Linked DNA regions of Homo sapiens: region 2 is linked to region 1. The links are contacts of gene promoters, found by promoter capture Hi-C in blood cells and fetal thymus (Javierre and others, 2016). All regions are on one chromosome and are shown on one strand. The core of a region is centred on a gene start or on the middle of the fragment in contact, and the rest is flanking DNA. Distances in the headings are between cores, read along the strand shown.

The links. The method cuts DNA at HindIII sites, captures the fragments that hold promoters and counts their contacts. A CHiCAGO score of 5 or more calls a contact.
Region 2: a contact is called between a fragment that was not itself captured here and the fragment with the promoter of NEK1 in region 1, in 1 of 17 cell types (total B cells). The highest score is 6.9, in total B cells.

The regions. Positions count from the first base shown.
Region 1 is chr4:169,609,216-169,614,056 of GRCh38, reverse strand. NEK1 (NIMA related kinase 1) reads left to right here and starts at 1,474. Exons shown (of 36, transcript NM_001199397.3): 1 at 1,474-1,835; 2 at 1,914-2,037. RefSeq lists enhancers at 1,402-1,461, 1,882-2,001. The HindIII fragment of the contact is 11,256 bases long and covers 1-4,841 here.
Region 2 is chr4:173,169,152-173,174,191 of GRCh38, reverse strand. All of the region lies in intron 1 of GALNT7 (polypeptide N-acetylgalactosaminyltransferase 7), which reads right to left. GALNT7-DT (GALNT7 divergent transcript) reads left to right here and starts at 4,540. Exons shown (of 7, transcript NR_134242.1): 1 at 4,540-5,040. RefSeq lists a silencer at 4,003-5,040. The HindIII fragment of the contact is 850 bases long and covers 2,741-3,590 here.

The DNA.
Region 1 (4,841 bases), core at 225-2,724:
CCAATAAAATATTTAAAGAAAAAGAAACCCCAAAGCACTCTTGTTTAAAAATAAAAAAAAAAATCAATTGTACAGGGGTATATAAACCAGAAAGGGAAATCAGGTAATCTTCTTAGGTAACCTGCTTTATTTACTCATCAATATATCAATGGTATCTTTGTATGTCAATAAAGTAGATCTTGATTACTCTTTTAAATGGCTTTAGAGTATTTCATTGTTTGGATATATTATAATTTAATCAATTCTTTATTGTTATACATTTACAGTATTTCTAGTTTTTCTGGTTATAAACAATAACGGTTATCCTTGTATATAAATCATTGCTCACTTGTTCCAGAAGTTAAATTGCTGAGTCAAAGGATATGCATACTGCTAGCATACCTTCTAGAAAGACTGTAGCAGTTTGTAGTCCTACCAATAGTTTATGACATGAGCCTAAAGAATTATCTAAGGAGGTTAGCTGACTAGCCATTCTTCCTGTAAGCAGCAAAAAGAATTTGCTTAGATTAGTAATTGGCAACATTTCACTTCACTTTGATGTACAAAAGGATGTGGGTAGAACTACAATTGTGCATTCAGACATGATAATTCCTACTAACTGGGGGTAGGAGGGCCCACAGGAGTGTAGACTAGAAGTAGAAAGAATGAGGAAAATAAGTCTTTTGTAGCTGTATGGCGATTGAAGAGGAGATAAAACAAACTCTCCAGCTTTTCAGGTTGGGTGACTTGCAGCGCCATCGTCTGGCAAAGCCGCCAAAATCTTTCAATGTCCCTAGGAATAAAGTTGCCCTGAGTAGGGCCACTCAGGATGACGCCAGATGATATCCCTTATTATAGTTTTAGGGGAATCTCTTCCTACCTTCGCCAGTCCTGCAGTGAAAAAATGTACTTAGACTGCTGTACATTTCCAAACCCTTCAACATACAGACAAGTAATTTATACATACATTAGATGTAAAGGTGTAGAAAACCCCATACAGCTTTTTAAAAATATCTCAAGACTTAAACATTCTTCTGTTTCAACCATCCAAGATATAATAGGAAAAGACTTGCTTTTTAAAGCAAAATTGCTCTTTAAAATGTGGCATCCCTAAGTAGTGCGCTTTCATGTAAAATAAAAAAGTCCCTTTCTCGGTGTAGTAGCTGTGGGAAAATTTTATATGCTTTATATTCCAAATTGGTTTCAACTAGTGAGTTCTCTCCCGCATCTCTGCATGACTCTTAACAGCTTTACACTCTCTCCATCCTTTTCATCTCTCCCGTCTCGTCCTTTCTGTCTTCCCGCCTGCAGAGCCCGCCCCTCCCGTCCCTTCGCACAGCACCCCGCCCGCCCCTTCGCACAGCACCCCGCCCGACCCTACGGTTCTAGCCCAGCCTCACTGCTCCTTCCCAGCCGCCTCCGCTGCGTGCCGCCTTCCACGCGCTGACGTCACACGCCAGCGCCGGTGACGCGCCGGCCGCTCTCCCTTAGTCCGCATTCGCTCCAGGGTTTTGGGACCCTAGGTTGCGGAGTCCTTACCCTACCCTGGCCTCTCGAGCAGTTGTCCCCATAACTCGGAATCTAGAGCCGCTGTTGCGAGGCAGGAGCACGTGGCAGTCAAGTAGCTTCCCAGTCCCGAACGCCGCCCGTCCCCACCCCGCCGTGGCCACTAGCAACGACCTCTGTGAAGTTGGAGAGGCGGTAACGGAGGCACTCCCCCTGCTGCACCCCGCCGTTTCTACGGGGCTCAGAAACCAGTTTGTTTGTTTCGTCGGGGTAGTGTCGACCTGTCTTACGGGCGTCGCCCGAGACAGGACGGAGTCAAACCCGTGGTATCAACTGAAGACGAGTGTCAGGTGTGGAGAGTCTCAGTGCCCCCTTTCAGTCTGGACTGTGAGCTGCTGCTGGTTAGACAGTCTTGGTTTCTCTTTCAGGATGTCATTTTCAAAATGCGGGATGGTACCTCTGCTTTATTAAGCCCCGTAGGAAGACTGCCACACCTAGACTGATGCTTATTAGTCATCACCGTTATTCCTACTAACGTCCTGTGTCACTGAGGTGAGTTCCACTTGGGGGAAGGAATGACATGCAAAATGGTAAAAATCATCCTGGAAATGAGATGTGCGTAGAACTGCTTATATTGAGATTACACAGATACCTTAAGTGTTTGCAGGGAAAATACCTTAATCTCATTTAAATGTTAATTCTCTAAGACACTCTGTATTAACAAAGCGATTCTTGGACATTACGGTATTTTTAAAAACTAGAGCGGTAATGGGATTAAAATAATAGGAATCTTAGTATGGATAAGCAAGCATTTGCATTGCTTATGTTGTGTCCAATCTTAAATTACTGATAAATTTTAATTAGGAAGCGAATATGAGTAGTAGTTAGCTGGTTACCCTGTAATCTTAGATTTCTGTTTCCATGATTTGACACAGTTTCCATATGTAAGGCATTAATTGTTGTACTACTTTAAGAGTTTATCATAACTTTTTTTGCAGGCCTATTTTTTGTTCTTTAAGATCTGCTTTAGGAAGCAGAAATATTTTTTATTGCCTTGGTATGTTTCATTAGAAATGTTTATGAAGGATTAAAAGTGGCATCCAATCTAAGTTAATGACCTTTTTTTATGATGCAGCAGTATTGTAGAGCTGATGGAGGGGAGCCAAATTTGGAGAGAAGTAACTCCTTGTTTCTAGTTTACATTTGTCTGGTTTTAGAGGTTCTACAGATCTGTTTCACTTAAAATATCCATTGTTCTAGGTGAAATGTAAGGAGCCTATTTTGTGGGAAAACAGGTTTTTTTCACGTTAAAAGTCACTGTCAGGAATTTAATAAAGGTCGTCGGACTTGACCACAGAAGTTCTTTTGAGGTCGTGTGAATAGTACATTGACATTGTATTCCAAGTAAATTTTGCCCTGTCTAATCTCCTGCCTTCTAGTCTAAGTCATGAACATGACACCTTTTCACGAATGTACATTCTTTATTTACCTGTTGGTAGTTTCTACTACAAAATCTGTTGAATATTGTCTGAATAGACTTACAGAGAAGAAAAAATATTTTGAAAAAAGTCTAATAGAAATTCCATTTTTGCTTTCTGCTTTTTCGAATAAAGGAAGATAAAGAACTTTTTTCCTGAGAAGATAAATGGATCCCCTCCCACTATTCAAGATGGTATTTATTGCTTAGGCAGAACTGTATGTATGGATTGTAGCTGCATACAGCGCCAAAAGACTTCTTGAAACCTGTTGCCATGCCTTTACCATGTTTCCCTTCAAGACAGCCTGTCTATAGAATATCTGAAACACCTGATGAGAGCTTAATGCTTAACCTAAGTATGTGTTCCAGATTGATCGAAGTTGAGCTTTTCCATTCATATACTCTAAAATTGTTTATATGTGGCTCACAAAATTTTATTATGTCCAAAATTGCTTATTTGTGGCTTTAAAGAAATTCTTAGTGGCTGGGTGCTGTGGCTCTTACCTGTAATCCCAGCAGTTTGGGAGGCCACGGTGGGTGGATCACTTGAGGTCAGGAGGTTGAGACAAGCCTGGCTGACCTGGCGAACCCATATCTACCAAAAATACAAAAAATTAGACGGGCGTGGTGGTGCGTGCCTGTAATCCCAGCTACTTGGAAGGCTAACACAGGATAATTGCTTGAACCCGGGAGGCAGAGGTTGCAGTGAGCCGAGATACTGCCACTGCACTGTAGCCTGGGCGACTGAGTGAGGCTTGTCTCAAAGAAAAAAGAAAAAAAGAAAGAAATTCTGGGTCAGACGCTGTGGCTCACACCTGTATTCCCAGCATTTTGGGAAGCCGAGGCAAGTGGATCATTTGAGGTCAGGAGTTCGAGACCAGCCTGGCCAGTATGGCGAAACCCCGTCTCTACTAAAAATACAAAAATTAGCTGGGTATGGTGTCACACTCCTGTAATCCCAGCTACTTGGGAGGCTGAGGCAGGGGAATCACTTGAACCTCGGAGGCCGAAATGGCACCATTGCATTCCAGCCTAGGCAACAGAGCAAGACTCTGTCTCAGAAAAAAAAAAAAAAAAAGAAATTCTTAGTAAAATGTGAGGAAAGCTGTCTTATTTGACTAGAGGCTGAGGTACTTTTTTCTGGAGCATAGTTCATATACTTGAAAAGAAGCATGATGCCATAAGAAAACTTTGAATGTCAAAAGTGAGGAGTTTGGAGATGGGGAATTGTTGAAGGATTTTAATTGGAGAAATTGATTTAGCCAGTATTCTTACTATTTCTATCAGATATTATTGTTTTAATATTTATTGTTTTGAATAGATAATACATTTGTATGGTTCAAAATTCAGAAAGTACAAAAGATTGAAAAATCTTTTCAACTATTAAATGCCTTCTTTGTAGGCAGTATTACTAGTTTATTGTGTATCTCTCCATAGATATTATTTAATACAAGCCAGGGGTGCATGTGTGTATATATATACATATGTATATTTATACACATATATGAGTAACTGTAAGCATATATACTTATGTATTTCCTTTTACTAAACAAATGATAGCATGCCATATTTATTATTCTGATCCCTAAAAATCTAACAGTGTATTAAGAAATTATATCAGTTTAAAAGTTGCTGTGTTGACTGTATGTGAATGATTACATTTTGCTCTATTAGAAACAGTGCTGCAGAGGATAACTTTGTAGATACTTTGTTTTCCTACATTTGGAAATATTTGTAGGGTAAATTGCTAGAAATTGAATCACTACATCAAAGTTTCTGTCCCCTTATAATTTTGGTAGATGTTGCCAAATTATTTTCCTTAGTGCTTGTACCAATTTATAGTCCCACCATATTGTTTCCTGCTATTCCCCCACAGTAC
Region 2 (5,040 bases), core at 1,916-4,415, 3.6 Mb before region 1:
TGTGATATTTTTAATCATTATTATGTGTGGGGGGAGAAGGGGGATGGGACACTGAAAACAGCAAAGGAAACAAAAACCAATCCTAAGGTGTATAGCCTGGGAAACTGAGAGAACAGTGACCACTTAAGACACTACACTTTCACTAAGTGATAGCTCCATCCCTAATAGTATAAACAGAGCTTCCATTTGAAGTACAATCTCATGTTCAAGGGCAGAATTTTTCAGGTTACAACTGATCATCACTGAGATAAAATGGCTTTGGTAAGGTGGAACTTGACTGCCAGGGTAATCAGTTCAGCCACTAATCCTCATTTAAGCTATATTCCTTTCAAACCTGTTAGCTTGCCTATCACATAAAACCTCTTGGCCTACTAGTTCCTGAATTAGTCCTATTATATACACCCTGAACCTAAGTGGCATTAATGACTTGACTAAAGTTGCATTTGCATATCCAGAGAGTCATTAGTTTACACACAGCTTCTCACCAGTACTGAATGTTTTAATGCAGGGGTCCCCAACCCTGGGTCATGGAGCATAAACCCTATTGTGAACTGCATGCAAGGGATCCGGGTTGCACACTCCTTATGAGAATCTAATACCTAATGATCTGAGGCGGAACAGTTTCATCCCCAAACCATCCCCCACCCAACCCAACTCCCCCAGTCTGTGGAATAATTGTCTTTGACAAAACCAGTCCCTGGTGCTAAAAAGGTGGGGGACTGCTGTTTTAATGGATCTGTCAACATTTCCTTTAAAAACCTTTATTTTCAGAGGCTTATGGGTCAACTGTAGACAGTCACTCAGGGCTAAAACCTGGGATAAATGGTGTTAGTCTGGGACATAATTTATTTAATTAAAGGAACTTTCTGTGCTTTGCAAGTCCAAGCAGATAATCTTAATAAATGCTGACCTTAAAATATCCAGAGGGCAAAGACTAAAAAAAAAAAAGCTTCCCATAATCATAAAATACAATACAAGAAGGTATACATTTTGCTTTGAGAACTTTCCATAATGAAACAAATAATCTATCATCCTAGGCCTCCTGACACCTTCACTACCATATCCAATAGCCAAATCCTGATGCCTTTGCATCTTTAGGAGCTCTTGAATCAATTTATTTTTTTCTATCTCTACCACCGCCCTGCCAATCTAAGCAAGGATTATGTCCCACCTGAATAATGATGACCCCCACCAGGACTCCTGCTACCTGTTCTATAGACAAATACATACTTTCTGTAGGCAGCCAGAGTGATCTTTTCAAAACACAAATCCACTCTTCCCTACTTAAAATCTTTCAACGGCTTCTCACCGCACTTAAGATCTCCTCCTTAGCATGGACTACGAGACCCATGCTTTCCTGTGTGGCATCATTCTACTTGTCATTCTCCACGTTCCAACAATATTTATCTCCTAGTTTCTCACTATTTCACTCATGCTACCTCCTGCCTCAGGACCTTTGCCCAAATGCTCCTTCTCAAGAATGCTGCCACCCACTTCCAGATTAACTACTTTTCTTGAAATGTTCAGATTTCGCCTCAAAAGTCAGAGTAGGCAGCTAGGCAGACATGAGCAGGGCAGGAAAGGCCCCCCACCACCAGGAATGTCAGGCGGCCATCAGGTGATGGTCAGGCCGTTGTTAAACTGTCTCTCTGAAATAATAATTGGTCGCGCCAACACCATGGAAAGGCAGTCTCCCATTAGATAGAAAACACCTAAAGCTGGTTATCAGCAGGTTCCCACTAAGATCTCAGGAGTTGGGCAAGTGGGCTCCAGCATGTGCACTAATAGGCAAAATGGCAGCTTTTAACTAGTATATGCCCTTCCTCTAGGAAGGCTCAAATTGTAAGGGAAAAATGCCTCAAGTGAGCATGAGTAAAACTTCAGTAAACACACTGCAGGCAGCCCCTCCCCGCTGCTGGCAGGCCACTGCGCATGCAGACAGCCCACCCCAAGGGAAGAATCACGGGAGAAGAAACGCAAACCCTGGAATCATGCCAATGTATAAAACCCCAAGTCCAGGGTCAGACGAGGTACTTGGATTTCTCAAGTAGCCCACATGGCCTTCTTCAAAGTGTACTTCCTTCCGTTCCTGCTCTAAAGCTTTTTAATACTCTCACTCCTGCTCAAAAATTTGCCTCGGTCTCTCACTCTGCCTTATGCCCCTCCAATAAATTCTTTCCCACAGGAGGTAAGAATCGAGTTGCTTCAGACCTGTGTGGATTTGCTACTGCTAATAGTCATTTCTTCAAGTAAGGCTTTTATGACCAAATTCCTCCATTTTCTTGCCCCCTATGGTTTTCACTATGAAAGCAGTAGCACAATTTTTATTTATATATTTATCGAGGTTTGATTGCTGTGTGGTTTTTACAAGATCCATGAGATTAAGGACAAGGAGTATTTCCTTAACAACTAGTACCATGCCTGGTATATAATTGGCACTCAAAAATGTTCAAATAAATCAATATTTAAAATCACACAACAGAATATGATCGGAAATGTAAGGTCATTTTTCACATCATTCACTTCAGAGAAAGGGCAAGAGGCCCAGAGATGGGAAGGAAATAAGAAACATGTTTCTTTTGTCTTGACTCCACAGGTGGACAGACCTAAAACAAGGAAATAGTGCAGATGAGAAAGGACCATCCCAAGTTGTCAAGGCTGTAACAGAATTTAGTGTATGACATATTCATAGTTCAAGACAAAAAGTGGCACAGGGTGAATGGAGCCACAGGTACAAGCTTGCTGGAGTAGAGGCAGAACCCATACCTGGTAAACTGGATCGTTCAGGCTATTTAAAGGGATCCAAAAAAGTCCATGTGTAGATCAGCATTAAAGAGAAGCAGAGATCTCACCATGGGTGGAATATATGCAATAGTCATCGAAGTAAAAGAACCACAAGGGGGAGGAGAAACTCAGGAGTCAGAATCCTCCCTACAGGATTTGTCCTTCTAGCACTGTACCTTAAAAGCTCCTAGGTTAGTCTTTATTAAAGGAAGGCAATAATCCCTTATTTATGCTCTTATTATTTATAAGCTACACTTTAAATTGCTTGTATTACTATTTACCTGGGAAGCCAATAAAAGGGTCTTTCTTGCTCTTCTGATACCTAAGCATTCCTCTTAATGTTAATTATGTTAAGTCTTTAAAATCTACCTTTTGTTTTTGACAAATGACAGAAATTACACTGGATCCACTGAGAAACTTTATCAAGTACACTGAAACAAACAAAAAATCAAGATATCATCACCTTCTTTATCATCACCATATAGTACTGAAATGGGCATTATGGCCCATCCTTTGTTTGCACTAATAAAATATTCCACGAGTTGGCAAGTGATGCTGATGTTCCGCCACCTCTTTAAAAGATCATCAGAAGGGCGGGACATTCTGAACCTAGCTAGTTTTGTCAGTTTTTCGTCAGTTTCTCTACCAGAAAATAGGGGGTTAAACATTTCTAGCTACATGTAAAAAGCCATTTGATGACTTAAAACAAATATCCTCAATTGCAATATTCAGTTATCCTTTGTCAATAAGTCATATTGAGAGCAAAATTATAAAAAGATCACCATCACTCCATGAGCTGAGAAGCTTAAAACCGCAAATGTACTGAAAAGGAAAACTGATACTTTTTATTACCATCAATTTAGATGACTTAGATGGGAATCTATCCCAGATATTACAAAGGGATTCCACTGCTGTAGAGACTTCAAATACTAAAACTTCCAGATTACATCTAATCTCATGATATAGGCGAAGAGCTGATAATGGGATCTCCTCCTAGGATTCTTACTCTTGAAAGGACGCCACAAGCCTTTTTGCCCAACTTCTTGATGCTAACTTTCCAGAAGGAAAGTTAAATAAACATGACATAGAAGCGATGCTCATCACACTTGCAAAAAGCACTTTACAACAGAGAGAGCGACTCGACTCCTCCTGCAGCCCCGCCGCCTCGGCGGTCGTGAGCCCCTCATACCCTCTCCTACCCCCACTGGCAGCCGGCCCAGTTGGCTGTCCCAGCGGGGAGGAGGAAGCAGGTGGTGCAACGGTTCATCCGGGGGGAAGCAGGTCAGGGTCGGGGGCGAGGCCGGTGCGCGCCGCCCGCTGCCGGGTCAGGGAAGCCGCAGTGCCCGCGGTCCCTTCCCCGCGCGGCGCGGCTCCGGGTAACTAATGTTCCGAGGCGCCTGACTAAACCCTCCAAATCCAAGGAATGTCAGCGCTAACACTCGCGCCCTGGGCGGCAGACAAATGCGTCCCAGCGGAGCCGCCGCGAGCTCCGCGCCGCCGCTCCCCTCGGCGTCGGCCTGAGCTAGCCGGCAGCCGGCGCGGGGCGGCCGGGCGCCGACACAAGTTAGTTTTCCGGCCCAAGCAGCCCTGCCGCAGCCAAGGAAGAGGAACTGCTCCTCTTCCCCCGGATAGCGCCCGAGCACTGCCACAGCAGGGGCTTCCCCAGGCGCTGAGGGCTGGGGGCGGCGGGCAGGCGGGGCGGGGACGCCCCTCCGCCATCTCCGGCCAACCGCCCCTCCCTCGCCCAGGGACGCGAGGGGGACCGGCGGTCCGGGCGAGGCCTCGGCCGCGCATCGCACCCCGGCTCCCCGCCGCCGGAGTTGAGGGGGAGGCGCGCTCTCCGTAAGAGCCGGAGGCGGGGCGCCATCGCCCTCCCACTCCCCGGCGGGCGGGCCGGGGGAGCCCGGGGCTGCGAACACCCCCAGACGGGCGGCTGCGGGAGGGGAGGCTGGACCAAGGGGCCTGGTCCACCGGACCAGCGGTGGCGGCATCGGCATCTCGCCTCCTTCAGGCCTGCACGCGCCACAGGCCGCAGCCTGGACCAACCCCGCGTCCCCGGGCCGTGAGCGCTGCGGTCCCGGCCCCCCAGAGCGGGACGCCGGGCGGCCGCAGCCCCCCGGACCCGGCTCTCCGCCCGCTCCGCCCGCAGTCCCGGCGCGGAGAGCGGCCGCCCGAGCCGCTGCCGCGGCAGCGCGGGTGTCGGCGACGGAGCCCGGGGCGGGGAAGAGCGGAGGAAGGGGCGGCGAGGGGGCGGGC